Regions from separate parts of the Homo sapiens genome. Here region 2 is linked to region 1. Evidence: promoter capture Hi-C in 16 types of primary human blood cells and fetal thymus (Javierre and others, 2016). All regions are on one chromosome and are shown on one strand. The core of a region is centred on a gene start or on the middle of the fragment in contact, and the rest is flanking DNA. Distances in the headings are between cores, read along the strand shown.

Region 1 (6,431 bases), core at 2,247-4,746:
CCCAGGCTGGAGTGCAATGGCCCAACCTCAGCTCACTGTAACCTCCGCCTCCTGGGTTCGAGCAATTCTCCTGCCTCAGCCTCCCAAGTAGCTGGGATTACAGGCACGTGCCAGCACACCCGGCTAATTTTTGTATTTTTAGTAGAGACAGGGTTTCACTGTGGTTGGCCAGGCTGGTATCGATCTCCTGACCTCAAGTGATCCGCCCGCCTCGGCCTCCCAAAGTGCTGGGATTATAGGCGTGAGACACTGCGCCCAGCTGTCTGAGCAGTAGTTTTCAAATTTATAAAATGGAGGTGCCGATAATAGCGTCTACATCACAGGGTTGCTATGAGGTCTGGAGACAGCGTATTCAGGTTCTGACCCACAGAGACTGAGAGAAGTCAGCCTTCCTTGACTCTGTGCTCTGGTGGTCCTTTGCATACCCCTCCATCATCATGCAAATTATTAGTAATCGATAAAGCAATGCTATAGTCGATCAATAACACTTATATATGCTAAGCACCCTGCTGTTTTATGAGAATGGTTTGTTTCCTCTACAACCTAATTTTTTTTTTTGAGATGGAGTCTTGCTCTGTCACCCAGGCTGGAGTGCAGTGGCGCCATCTCCACCCACTGCAAGCTCTGCCTCCCGGGTTCACGCCGTTCTCCTGCCTCAGCCTCCCGAATAGCCGGGACTACAGGCGCCCGCCACCACGCTGGCTAATTTTTTTGTATTTTTAGTAGAGACGGGGTTTCACCTTGTTAGCCAGGATGGTCTCAATCTCCTGACCTCATGATCCACCCGCCTTGGCCTCCCACAGTGCTGGGATTACAGGTGTGAGCCACCGTGCCCGGCCTCTCTACAGCCTAATTCTAATGTACATCCTTTAGAGCCTCCATTTCACAGATGAGAAATTGAGGCTCAGAGACATTATACAACCTTCACAGGTTTATTGGTGAATGGTTAAACTTAAGCCTGGGTCTGTGCCAATGTTCATCTTACTCCTAAACCTGAGTTCTCAGGCACCACAAAGTGTGCCCAAGAGGTAAGACAAGCCACTGTTTCCTAGGTTTGTCCCTTTTCCCGTTTGTATCTCTGTTTGCCCTTCTCCTTTGCATCACTTCTTCCCGCCGTTTTCTGATTTCTTCTTTTACTAAGCATAATAATAACCAAAGCTGCCCTTCAAGAACGTCAATTTCAAATGTATCGTGGCAGAGTCCAGGAAACAATATTGTGTAACACACTACCCTAAAACCTAAAGGCTTAAAACCACATGTATTTTATTGGCTCACAATTCTGTGGTTTGGCAATTTGGGTTGGATTCAGCTGGGCAGTTCTTCCATCAGTCTCTCCAGGTCTTATGTATGCTTCACAGGGGCTGGGTGGTCTAGTACAGCTCACTCACATGTCTGGAGGTGGCACCTTGTTGGCCAGGGTGCCTCAGTTCTCTTCCACACGGCCTCCTCGTGAGGCTAGCTTGGGCTTAAGGGGGGAAAATGAAAGCAGCATGGCCTCTTGAGGCCTAGGCTTGGAATTTGTACAATGTCACTTGTGACACATCCCATTGGTCAAAGCAAGTTACAAGATCCCATCCACATTCAAGGGGTGAATAAATTCCACCTCTTCTTGGGAAAAGTGTCAAAGAATTGATGGCCATTTTTAGTCTACTATGCTAAGTGCAGCCCCTTCCCCCAAAGTTATCCTTAATGCAGTCCCTTTGTGCCTCCACTCTCCTCTTTTAATTCCCATGCTTTTCTTATCCTTTTAATAATAAGCTCTCACTTCACATCACCCAAAGCTTCGTTCATTCACTTGACAAATACTTACTGTGTGCCAGGACCTATTAGTGAACAAAACAAAGCCCGTGCTCTAATGAATCTAAGATTCTAGTGGAGAGAGCGGACAATCAAGAAATAAACAAGAACACAGTGTTGGGCTATGGTGAACAATAGGTGCTTTGGAGAACAACAGAGCAGACTAAGTGCGGACTGTGTGTGAGGATAGCAGGGCAGTGGGTGGTTCCTATTATATGAAGTGGTCGGCTGTATCAATGAGGTGATATATAAGCAGGGTATTGAACGAAGTGAGGAGCAAGAAGTTCCAGGCAGAGCAAATAGCACGCGCAAAGGCCTGAGGCTGGCATGGAGAGGCAATTCCTTACAATTTCATATGTAGTAAAAAGTAACAAAACCCAGAAAAACACCAACCTTAATACATCTCATTAAAGAACAATACAACCCAAACATTTAAATATGGTAAAATCTTGATAAGCAAAAGCTTTTTATTTTACTTCATTTTTACTTTTATAAAAGCTCCTAATGCAATGACGTGTGTCACCTCTCTGGGCTTCAGGGTGTTCACCTTTCAAAAGGCCTCGGTGCCTGTCTGTCCTGCTTCCTGGCTTGTGGTTAGCATCAAAATGACACCATAAAAATGAAAGTTGCAGCCTTGAGGGTTCTTCTGGTTTCATTTCCGACCACAAGGTTGCCAGAGTGACTTTTTTTTTTTTTTAAATAACACAAATCAGTTATCACTTCCTGCTTAAAGCCCTCCAAAGGTTCCCTGTTGCCTAAAGAATAAACTCCAGGCACCTAAGCAAGCCCCACGCAGCCGTCTGCATTTTTCAATCCCTCCAACCTCGCCTTTTGCTATTTCCCCCACCCCACCTACGGCACGTTCCGGTCATAACCAACTAGCTCCTCGCTGAAACTGGCTCACACCGCGGAAGCCCGGGTCGGTGTCGGGGCGAGCCTTCCCTCCTTTTCCTGGAGCCCGTCTCAGGTCTGTAGCCCTCGGGAGGGATTGCAGGGCTCGTTCCCTGCTGGCGTTCATTTAGGTAACCTGTCTACCTCCAGTGGACTTCTAAGTCCCTTTCATGATTTTTCATCTTCCAAAATCAAATAATGGCCCAGCCCAACTTAGCTATAATGCCATGAAAAGAATCTCTGAGCCTCAGTTTCCTTGTCTGCAAAAAGGGCCCAGGAACCGCTCGTTAGGGTCGGTGTGGTGCCTGGAGAGTGCACTGCAAGGCCCGGGGCCCGCAGCGGGTGCCCGACAGCGGGCGTCCAACTCTGGGGGCGGGGCCGCAGGGCCGCTCAGGAGGGAGGTTCTCCAGAGGGGACCCCTTCGGGATTTGGGGGCAGGGAAGGAGATGGGGAGGACTTTCCCGAAGTCCGTCTAATCCCGCTGGCGGAGAGCGAGGCAGGTGGGACCCCAGGATGTCCGCTCGGCGGGGCGACCCCGGCCACCCCCGAGACCAGGGCTTTCCTCGTCCGGCCGCCACGCCCGCGCGCAGCCTCGGGCCACCCCGAAACCCCGGCGCGGTCACTACAGGACAAATTACGCGAGCAGAGCCTAGCGGCGCGCTGGGCATGCGCGGGGGCGGCGCGCATGCCCAGTCCCCCCGAGAGGCGGGAACTCCGGACTGAGACCGGGTCGGGCGTGCGCTGCCGAGAGAGGACGCGCGCCTCAGCCGGCTGCCGCGCACGCGCGCGGGCCCGCGCCGACGCAGCACGGCCTCGAGGGCGCGAGCCCGCGCCGCCGCCGCCGCCGCCGGTCCCGGACCACTGTGAGCCCGCGGCGTGAGGCGTGGGAGGAAGCGCGGCTGCTGTCGCCCAGCGCCGCCCCGTCGTCGTCTGCCTTCGCTTCACGGCGCCGAGCCGCGGTCCGAGTGAGTGCGGGGCGCCGGGCGCGGGGCGCGGGTCGGGGGCTGGGCGGGCTCCTTCTGTGCAGCGGTCGTGGGCTGGGCCGCGGCCCTGAGGGCGGAGGGGCAGAGCGGGGCCGCCCAACCAGTCCCGGGGCGGATGCGGCGGAGACCGGCCCCTCCCGCGCCCCCGGCCCGGGTTCTGGGAGGAGGGGAGGCCGGTGGCCGTGAGGAGGTTGGGGGCCCTCGCGGAGGCCGAGAGGCTTAAGGAGGTCAGGGGGCGCGCTGGGAGGCGGGGGTTCGGGGCGCTGGGTGGTCGGGAGGCTTGGGGAAGACTGGGAGGCTGAGGGACGTGGGGAGGCCGGGAGCTCGAGGAGGTCGGGGGTTTTGGGGGCGCGCGGGGAGGCCAAGGGGTTCGGGGAAGACAGAAAGGCTGGGGGACGTGGGGAGTCCGGGAGACGTGAGGAGGAAGGGGGGGGCGGCTTTCGAAAAGGCCGGGCGCGCGGAGAGGCCGAGGGGCCTGAGGAAGACGAGGAGGCCGGGGCTCTGGGGGCGCGCAGGGCGGACAGAGGCGCGGGGAGGACGGGCCGGCCTCCGCCGGAGCGGACCCAATGCCTGAAAAACAAAAGGGGAGAGGCAGGAGGAGGAAGAGGGAAATCGCAGGGACGTCGGCAGGGTTCGCCCGGACGCGAGAGGGAGGCTCGCGACGGCCCGACCTCCGTCCCCCGGGCGCGGCCTCGCGGGCAGCCAAGGGTGGGCTCCGAGCGGCCTGCCGGTGCCCGAGCCCCAAGCCCGCCGTGTCCCCGAACGCAAACCCTCAAGTTTGGTAGAGCCCCGTGGGCTTCTTGGCGGGAGCCCTGGAGCCCTCACTGAAGTCCTCACTGGAGTCATTGTGCTTCCCAAGTTTTCTCCTCTTCCCCGCCCCCAGCCCCCGACTCTGCCGCGGTGGCTTAGGCGCAACTGTTTGCCGAATTTCTCTCTGGGTTCCTTGTGTAGCGGCATCCTGTTCTTTCTTAGAAGAAGGGGTGTGTGTGTGTGTGTGTGTGTGTGTGTGTGTGTGTGTGAATTGGTTTCATTTAATTGCAGAATTTTGTAGCTAAATTCAGTGAGGGTAAAGTTTCTTTTTTTTTTTTTTTCCGAGTCATTTCAACAGTGTCTCATTCTTGCATAGTTAGCCTGCAGCTGGGTTTTTGGCAATGAGACTAAGATAATAGTAATATTGTAGTAATTATGGGAACTGGTTATACATTCAAGCTGAAAGCTGAAGGCAGTGCAAGAGTTTGGGGATTTGTATTTAAGACTTAACCATCGCTAGGATTTTTACTTAGAATGTAAACGTTTTCATGGCTGGAAAAACAGACCAGTACTATTTGAAATGAAATACCAGAGCCTCAACCTTAATATTTTATTTGGGAAACGGGTAATGAAAATGATGTCTTCGAGAGTTGAGCACTCCGTCCCATATTTGAAAACTTATGAGCAGTGCGATGCAAGCACACGGATGAACTAGTTACAAGACACATAAAAGTAAACTAGCATTCAACGTATTTTTGTTGGGGTACAGTATAGATAATATTTTCATCCAGTTATACTAGCCAATTAATTAGAAAAGCCCTATGATATTCAAACAAGGAACATTTTAAGGATGTTTGTGTCCCAATATCTTTGTGTTTTGTATTTGTGGTTATCCTTGGTGGGGAAAAACAGGCTGAACCTACCATCATTTTGAACCTTCTTGTTTATTAAACTGCAGAAACAACAAGATCAATATTACAAGGTTTTCCTTTAAAGAATTTCAGGTCACTATCAAATAATCTAGTTTAATAATGAACACAGGCACAGATTATTTAAAACACATGCTTCCTTTATAAGGGAGCCGACAATCACCTAAGACTTCAGTGTAGACGCTGATTAGAAGGACCCATACATCATTCAGTGGTGATGCATCAAGAAGCAAGTCATTGGTTAAATAAAGACATGGAAATCAAAACTCCATGTTTACGGTTTGGGGCAAAGAATACTGGGGCAAACTCTGAGAGGAGATGGGACTTAAAAAGCCTTATTATTTGAGGCTGGAAGCCCATTGAAAGTGAATAATGTTAGATTAGGAGTGAAGTTCCATGAATCCAGCAGTGAAATTGTGAGGAGGCAGTGAGGATCATTAAAACGTTTTATACTAAAATGTTTTCTGAAAAGCACCATGCTTCTTGATGGAAATTACATAACTTACTCCCTCAGTCCTCAAAATCATGTTCTCCAGCTAGTCAGATAACTGTTCTTTCTAGGGAGTTGGAGAAATTGTCTAAGAAAATAGTTTTTTTTTTTTTTTTTTTGAGACGGAGTCTCACCCTGTGGCCCAGGCTGGAGTGCAGTGGTGCGATCTCGGCTCACTGCAAGCTCCACTGCCCGGGTTCATGCCATTCTCCTGCTTCAGCCTCCCAAGTAGCTGGGACTACAGGCGCCCGCCACCACGCCCGGCTAATTTTTTGTATTTTTTAGTAGAGACGGGGTTTCGCCGTGTTAGCCAGGGTGGTCTCGATCTCCTGACCTCATGATCCGCCCACCTTGGCCTCCCAAAGTGCTGGGATTACAGGCGTGAGCCACTGCGCCTGGCCTGAAGATCCTGTTGTTTTAAAGGTAGCCTCTTTAAAAAAAAAAGATTAGGTCCTGTAGATGAAATTATTTATATTGTATTCTATAATGTAAAAAATAATTTTGAAAACTGTCCTTTCCTGAATGTTGATTTGAGTTAGAGAGGTAGGATCTTAGTTCATATCTCTAAAGGTTATGGAAACCTTTTTCCCC
Region 2 (6,479 bases), core at 1,704-4,203, 110 kb before region 1:
ATCTTATTTATTCTAACGATAGTTTTATACCCATTAACCATGCCCGTCCTGCAACTCTTCCCAGCCTCTGGTAACCATCCTTCTATTCTCCGTCCCATGCATTCAGTTGTTTTCATTTTTAGCTCTCACATATGAGTGAGAACATGCAAAATTTGTCTTTCTTCACCTGGCTTATTTCACTCAACATGTTGACCTTCAGTTCCACCCAAGTTGTTGCAAATGACAGGATTTCAACGGATTCTATTTCTTTTGGACAGCGCTAGTCCACTTGTAATGAGTCTCTTGAAAAGGAGTCTAGAAGGCACCTCACCTCACATTAACTGAGCACCTGTAAGTCAGGGATGTGGAGACACGGCAGCCAGGGTCCTGCCTTCTGGGACCTCCCAAGGGGCCAGGTGACCTGCTCCAGGCTACACTCCAAGGCCAACGAGGGTGCAGGTTTTAGAAGCGGGTCTTGAGGCTTGCTAAGCATGGGTGTTGGTCTTTCCTTCTCAGAGAGGCTGGCGTTCTGCCATGACCGACAGAGAGAAGCAAGGTGTTTGGAGCAAACCCAGCTCTGGGCTGAATCCCGCCTGGGTGATCTTCAAGTACCACTGCCTTTCTCTACGTTAAAGGGGAGTGGTCGTCCCAAGGGTCACAGAAGGGGACCAGTGTGGGTGACACGCCTACATGATGCTGACACTCCAAAGCCTCTCCAGTCATGGGCCCCAACTCCATCCCACCCTGCCCAAAACCCAGACATTGGAGGAAGATTTACAAAAAGGGCTTCTATGGTTTTGTATTTACTATGGGGTTTTTCTTACAATCATCTTACAATTACTATGGGGTTTTTCTTGCAATCATTTTCTTACAATAGCCCCTTACAAAGGGGACTATTTTTCTTAGCCACTTTTTAAAGACATGTAAATGAAGTGCTGAGTCAATCTGTAATTCTACTTTCCCTTAATGTGAAATCTTTCTTTAGACTAAAACTTGCTTATGTAAAAGAAGCTTTACTGAAATAAACCATGTGCTTCTCATGACCCAATCATTCCACAAGTCTTTTTAACCTCCAAACTGATCAGAAAGGCTGTTCTTGTCACCTCACCACGCTGGCCACAGTTTGGTGACAGATACTGAGTCCGCTGTTTAGTTTTCCCGAAAGTGTTTTATTCTCACCCTGGTTTTTGCTACCTTATCACACGAGTTAAGCACCTCCTCTTGCTGCATTAATGTCCAGTTTTAATCTTCCCAACTGGCTCATACATGAGACACCTGGCAAGTGTGTAATTGATTATTCTAATTGGAAACAAACACCCAGAGAAACATATAAAGGATGCATGCCGGGAAGCACACGGCTTCCTCACTGTCTGCAAAACTCTGCAGAGCTCTTTAACGCTGGTTTACGGAGAGGCCTGCATATTGACGACAGCCGCACTCATTGGGTTTTAGAGCTGTCTACACCTTCTCCATTATTTAATCCTCACCATACTTCAAGAGGGAAGAGCAAGCATGCCCATTTGACACAGAGAGAATGGGGGGTCCCAGCTAGCCAGCAGGTCCCGCTCACTAGGGGCCCGCTTCATCCCGGGGACTCTGAACAGGCTTCTCCCGTCGCCTCCAGGCTCCCGTTAGTCTTGCTTCAGAAGAAGTCCTGCTCAGAGGCACCCCGAAGTCCTGATCAGAGGCACCCCACAGCAGGTCTGCAGCTGGGAGTCCAGCCCCCATGTCCACATCCCTGGAGAGGCCTGGTGCCCTGCCGCGTGCAGCAGAAAGAAGCATTAGTGCTCTGCCCTGAAGCCTCGTTCCCCACACTTGCCGCCACAGTCCAGCCTTGGAGCATCTTTGTGGCCATGACCTCTTGGGCCGATCCCCCGTCTGCCTCCTAGTGATGGCTACGGGTGATCACCCCAGGCAGCCCTCCTCCCCAGCCTGGCCTGGTGGAGCCCTCTTTGGACCCTGCTAGGGTCTTGGCTTGACCCCAGCTCTCCCGCTGAGCTGAGGCTATAGCCACAGGGAGCCGGCCGTGCCTCTCTGGTAGCACTTTCCTGGCCGGGCAGCCACATGCTGGCCTAGGGGCCCAGGCCCTACTGATCTCTCCTCCTCCAGGAAGCAGCTCTCAGCGCAGACCCAGCCCAGAAGAAGGCTGGAGGTGCCACCTGACCCCCTCAGCCTCCGCTCTGTCCTCTGCCCTGGCCCCTGCATCTGGCAGTGCCTCCCAGTTTCCCTACCCTGGCGAAGCACGTGGATTGTCAGGCACCTCCCCTGCTTAATGATTCTCCTGCCTCAGCTTAGGATTCTCCAGTGGCTCCCAGTGCCCTCAAGACGTGCTGCAGCCCCACGGCAGATTCAAGGCCCTCCACAGGGCAACGTGTTCCGTCGAGATCCCTGCCAGCCCCTCTGCACATTCCCAACTCCCACCCAAGATAACCTTGGCTACGTCTAATTCTCCAGCCCTTCCTTGCCTTTGCCCAGGTGCTCCTCTGCTCCTTCCCCACCTGCCCCATGCAGCGGCTCCTCCTGACTCACCTGTGCAGGTGCTCCCTTGCCACTGCCCTCTCCCCGTGCACACACTGCTTTGTAACTACGGAACAACTACTGCAACTCAGAACAGGATGTCAAGTCCAGGTCCAGGAATGGCGGCCATGCAGGCATGGGGCTAGACCCTGGAGGCACAAGGATGGACGAGGCAGGGTCTCTCTACTCATGAGGGGCTTAACTGCTTGTCCAACAGACAGGTGCAGAAACAGTCCATCCCAACAGAATTCCCCAACGACAGCCCCAGAATGCCACAGAAACAGTCCGTCCCAACAGAATTTCCCAACTATGGCCCCAGAATGCTGCAGAAACAGTTTGTCCCAACAGAATTCCCCAAGGACAGCCCCAGAAGGCCACAGAAACAGTCCGTCCCAACAGAATTCCCCAAGGACAGCCCCAGAAGGCCACAGAAACAGTCCGTCCCAACAGAATTCCCCAACAACGGCCCCAGAACACAAGGGCGTTGGAGCCATGCTGTGGGAGGAGGGGCTCAGGAAGTCTTCCTGTGGAGGAGGCCGTGTGGGCAGAAGCTGGAGTGGCCAGCATCCTGGTTTCCCTGGGGCTGTCCCAGGTCTAGCACTAACAGCTCTGCTTCCCAGGAAGTCGCTCAGTCCCAGGCAAACTGGGACGGTCGGTCACCGTAGCAGAGCCAGGTGGCAGCCTCTTCGTGGTTCAGAGGCAGAACCGACAGGCAAGCAGCGTGGGGCCCTCAGGAAGGGCTTGTTATTAGCAGCCGATCCACTGAAATCCCGAAGGACCCCAAAGCTGGGTGCCCCCACCCTATTCTGCATACCCACTGGCCCGTCCTCCCTGACCCTACACATGGGCCCCAATAGCCTCGAAGTCTCTGTAGAATGTGTTCAGGTGTGGCCCACCTGAGAAGCAGGTTCAGGGCCCAGGGTGATGGTCTTGCATGAGTGAATGAATGAATTATTAAGTGAACAAAGGAATGAACACATGGCTCCTACTTTCTCTTTTTATTTTTTCTTTTTTTTTTTGGAGACAGAGTCTCCGTCTGTTGCCCAAGCTGGAGTGCTGCGGCGCGAAATCAGTTCACTGTAACCTCCACCTACTGGGTTCAAGGGATTCTCTTGCCTCAGCCTCCCCAGTAGCTGGGATTACAGGCGCTCACCACTGTGCCTGGCTAATTTTTTGTTTTTGTTTTTGTTTTTACTAGAGACAGGGTTTCACCATGTTGGCCAGGCTGGTCCCAAACTGCTGATCTCAAGTGATCTGCCCACCTCTGCCTCCCAAAGTGCTGGGATTATAGGCATGAGCCACTGTGCCCGGCCCTCCTTTCTCTTCAAAGACATTTTGCAAATAAAGGGCAGAGCTGGGGGGTCGTTCTTACCGTACACATGCACCCCTCCCACGACAGAAGCAAATTTTCATTTAATTCTGCCCTTGCCCTCCTTCTATTCTCAACATGCGATGGTCCTGCCTCACTCAGAGGAGAAGCAGGAGTGTGGGTCCCTTGCTCACAGCTGTATCCACAGCGTCTGGATCAGCCCCGGGAGCGGAATGGGGGCTCGTGAGAATTCCTGGGACCACGGCTGAAGGAATCCCCTCAAATCCTCAAGAAGAGCCACGGGATTCCCCTCTCAACCCAACCCTACAGATTTGCCCCACCCTGACCAGAATGACTCCAGGGGGCCCTGCACGCCTCTCGGCTGGAATGAGAGACAGACACGTGGCCTGCGTGGACGGCGTTGCCCGCAGGGGACATAGTGAGAATAGCATCAGGACAACAAAGCTGATGCGGGGCCTAATAGCTCAGGAAGTTGGTGCTATTGATAAGCAATTACCTATTTTAAAGATACATATATATATTTTTGAGATGGAGTCTCACTCTGTCGCCCAGGCTGGAGTGCAGTGGCACACTCTCAGCTCACTGCAACCTCCGCCTCCTAGTGGTTCGAGTGATTCTCCTGCCTCAGCCTCCTGAGTAGCTGGGATTTCAGGCACCCGCCACCACGCCTGGCTATTTTTTGTATTTGTGGTAGAAATGGGGTTTTGCCATGTTGGCCAGGCTGGTCTCGAATTCCTGACCTCAGGTGATCCCCCCATCTCAGCTTCCCAAAGTGCTGGGATTACAGGTGTGAGCCACTGCACCCAGCCATATATATATATATTTATATATATTTATATATATATATTTTTTTTATTTTTATTTTTATTTTTTTTTTGGAGACAGGGTCCTGCTCTGTGGCCCAAGCTGGAGTGCAGTGGTGTGATTACAGCTCACTACAGCCTCAACCTCCTGGGCACAAGTGATCCTCCCACCTCAGCCCCCCAAGTGGCAGGGACCGCAAGAGCATACCACCATGCCAGCTAATTTTTGCATTAGCCTCAAAAAGGAAGGAAATTCTGGTACGTGCTGCAACAAGACGGAAGCTTGAGGACACGGCGCTCTGTGAAAGAAACCAGTTAGGAAAGAGCAGATGCTGTGGGATTCCACTCACCTGAGTCCCTAGAGACAGTGAGAAGCGTGGTGGGAGCCGGGGCCTGGGGGAGGGGAATGGGGAGCCAGTGTTTCGTGGGGATGGAGTTTCAGCCGGGGAAGATGAAGCCGTTCTGGAGGTGATGGTGGTGATGGTCATACGATGTTATGAATGTGCTTAATGCCACTGAACTGCACACTTAAAAGTGGTAAACATGGCCGGGCGCGGTGGCCTGGCCAACATGGTGAAACCTCGTCTCTACTAAAAATACAAAAATTATCCGGGCATGGTGGTAGGCACCTGTAGTCCCAGCTACTGGGGAGCCTGAGGCAGGAGAATCGCTTGAACCAGGAAGGTGGAGGTTGCAGTGACCCAGCGGAGTTTTAGGGTCCCAGACAGCCCATGTTCCCAGCACTGCCACCTTCTTGCTGGCGGGCGCTGCCAGGACAGCCTCACAGCCAAGGGCAAGGATGGGTTTGTGCCCCCAAAACCCACCCAAGGTGGGCAGATGGGCTGGCAGGATCAGCTCTGCCCTCTAATGGGTTCCCGTGAGGAGAGACCCCAAGCACATCCCCACTTCATTGTTTAAAACTTTTTTTTTTTGAGACAGTATCTGTTGCCCAGGATGGCTAGAATGCAGCAGTGCCATTGCAGCCCACTGCAGCCTCGACTTCCCTGGCTCAAGTGATCCTCCTGCCTCAGCCTCCCAATTAGCTGGGACTACAGGTGAGCGTCACCACACCCAGCTAATTTTTTCTATTCTTTGCAGAGACAGGGTCTCCCTATGTTGCCCAGGCTGGTCTTGAACTCCTGGGCTCAAACAGTCCTCCTGCTTCAGCCTCCCAGTGTTGTGATTACAGTCATGAGCCACCGCACCCAGCCAAAACTTATTTTTATTACCCAAGTAATACACATTCATTGTAGAAAAAATGGAAAATACATATAAACAATTGGCAAAACAAACAGCAATCACCTATAATCCCAGCACCCAGAGAATTTATCATTAACACCATGTATGACCCAGATTTGTGCAGAGAAGTGCATATCAGCATTTTTAGAGGCTGACTTCATACTCATATCTCCAGAGTCCATGTGTCTCCTGCTATGACATTGACAAGGACGAAAAAGAACGTGGAGAATGTGAGGAACAGGGCCTGATGGATTCCAGTAGGGGAGGGCCCTGGTAGCCTCCCGAGGGAAGGCGTGATGTAACACAAGTGGCTTGACCTTGACCTTACACCTTCACTGTTGGAATTTACCCTAAAAACAACTGACCAGGCACAAGAAGGTGCCGTTGTGGATGAGCCATGCCAGTGGCCACATCCACGTGATGAGCATGATGCTGCTACCAAACAGAGGTGTGGAATCTATGTTCATGAAACATGGGAGGTGCGAGCAGATTCATGGTTTTCAAAACATTGGTTCTTCAATGGGTGAAACACAGAGCTGCCATCAGTCCCAGCAGTCCCACAGCGGGCACCTCACACACCCAAAAGAGCTGCAGGCATTTCACACACCCAA

The links. The method cuts DNA at HindIII sites, captures the fragments that hold promoters and counts their contacts. A CHiCAGO score of 5 or more calls a contact.
Region 2: a contact is called between a fragment that was not itself captured here and the fragment with the promoter of PTK2 in region 1, in 1 of 17 cell types (total B cells). The highest score is 7.4, in total B cells.

Annotation. Positions count from the first base shown.
Region 1 is chr8:140,998,347-141,004,777 of GRCh38, reverse strand. It overlaps PTK2 (protein tyrosine kinase 2), which reads left to right and starts at 3,496. Exons shown (of 36, transcript NM_001352702.2): 1 at 3,496-3,653. RefSeq lists silencers at 3,062-3,481, 3,502-3,831. The HindIII fragment of the contact is 6,005 bases long and covers 2,263-6,431 here.
Region 2 is chr8:141,107,940-141,114,418 of GRCh38, reverse strand. No RefSeq gene overlaps it. Among named protein-coding and RNA genes, the nearest start is that of DENND3, 17 kb to the left of the region's middle. RefSeq lists enhancers at 257-336, 937-1,076, 1,492-2,011, 2,012-2,533. The HindIII fragment of the contact is 3,921 bases long and covers 993-4,913 here.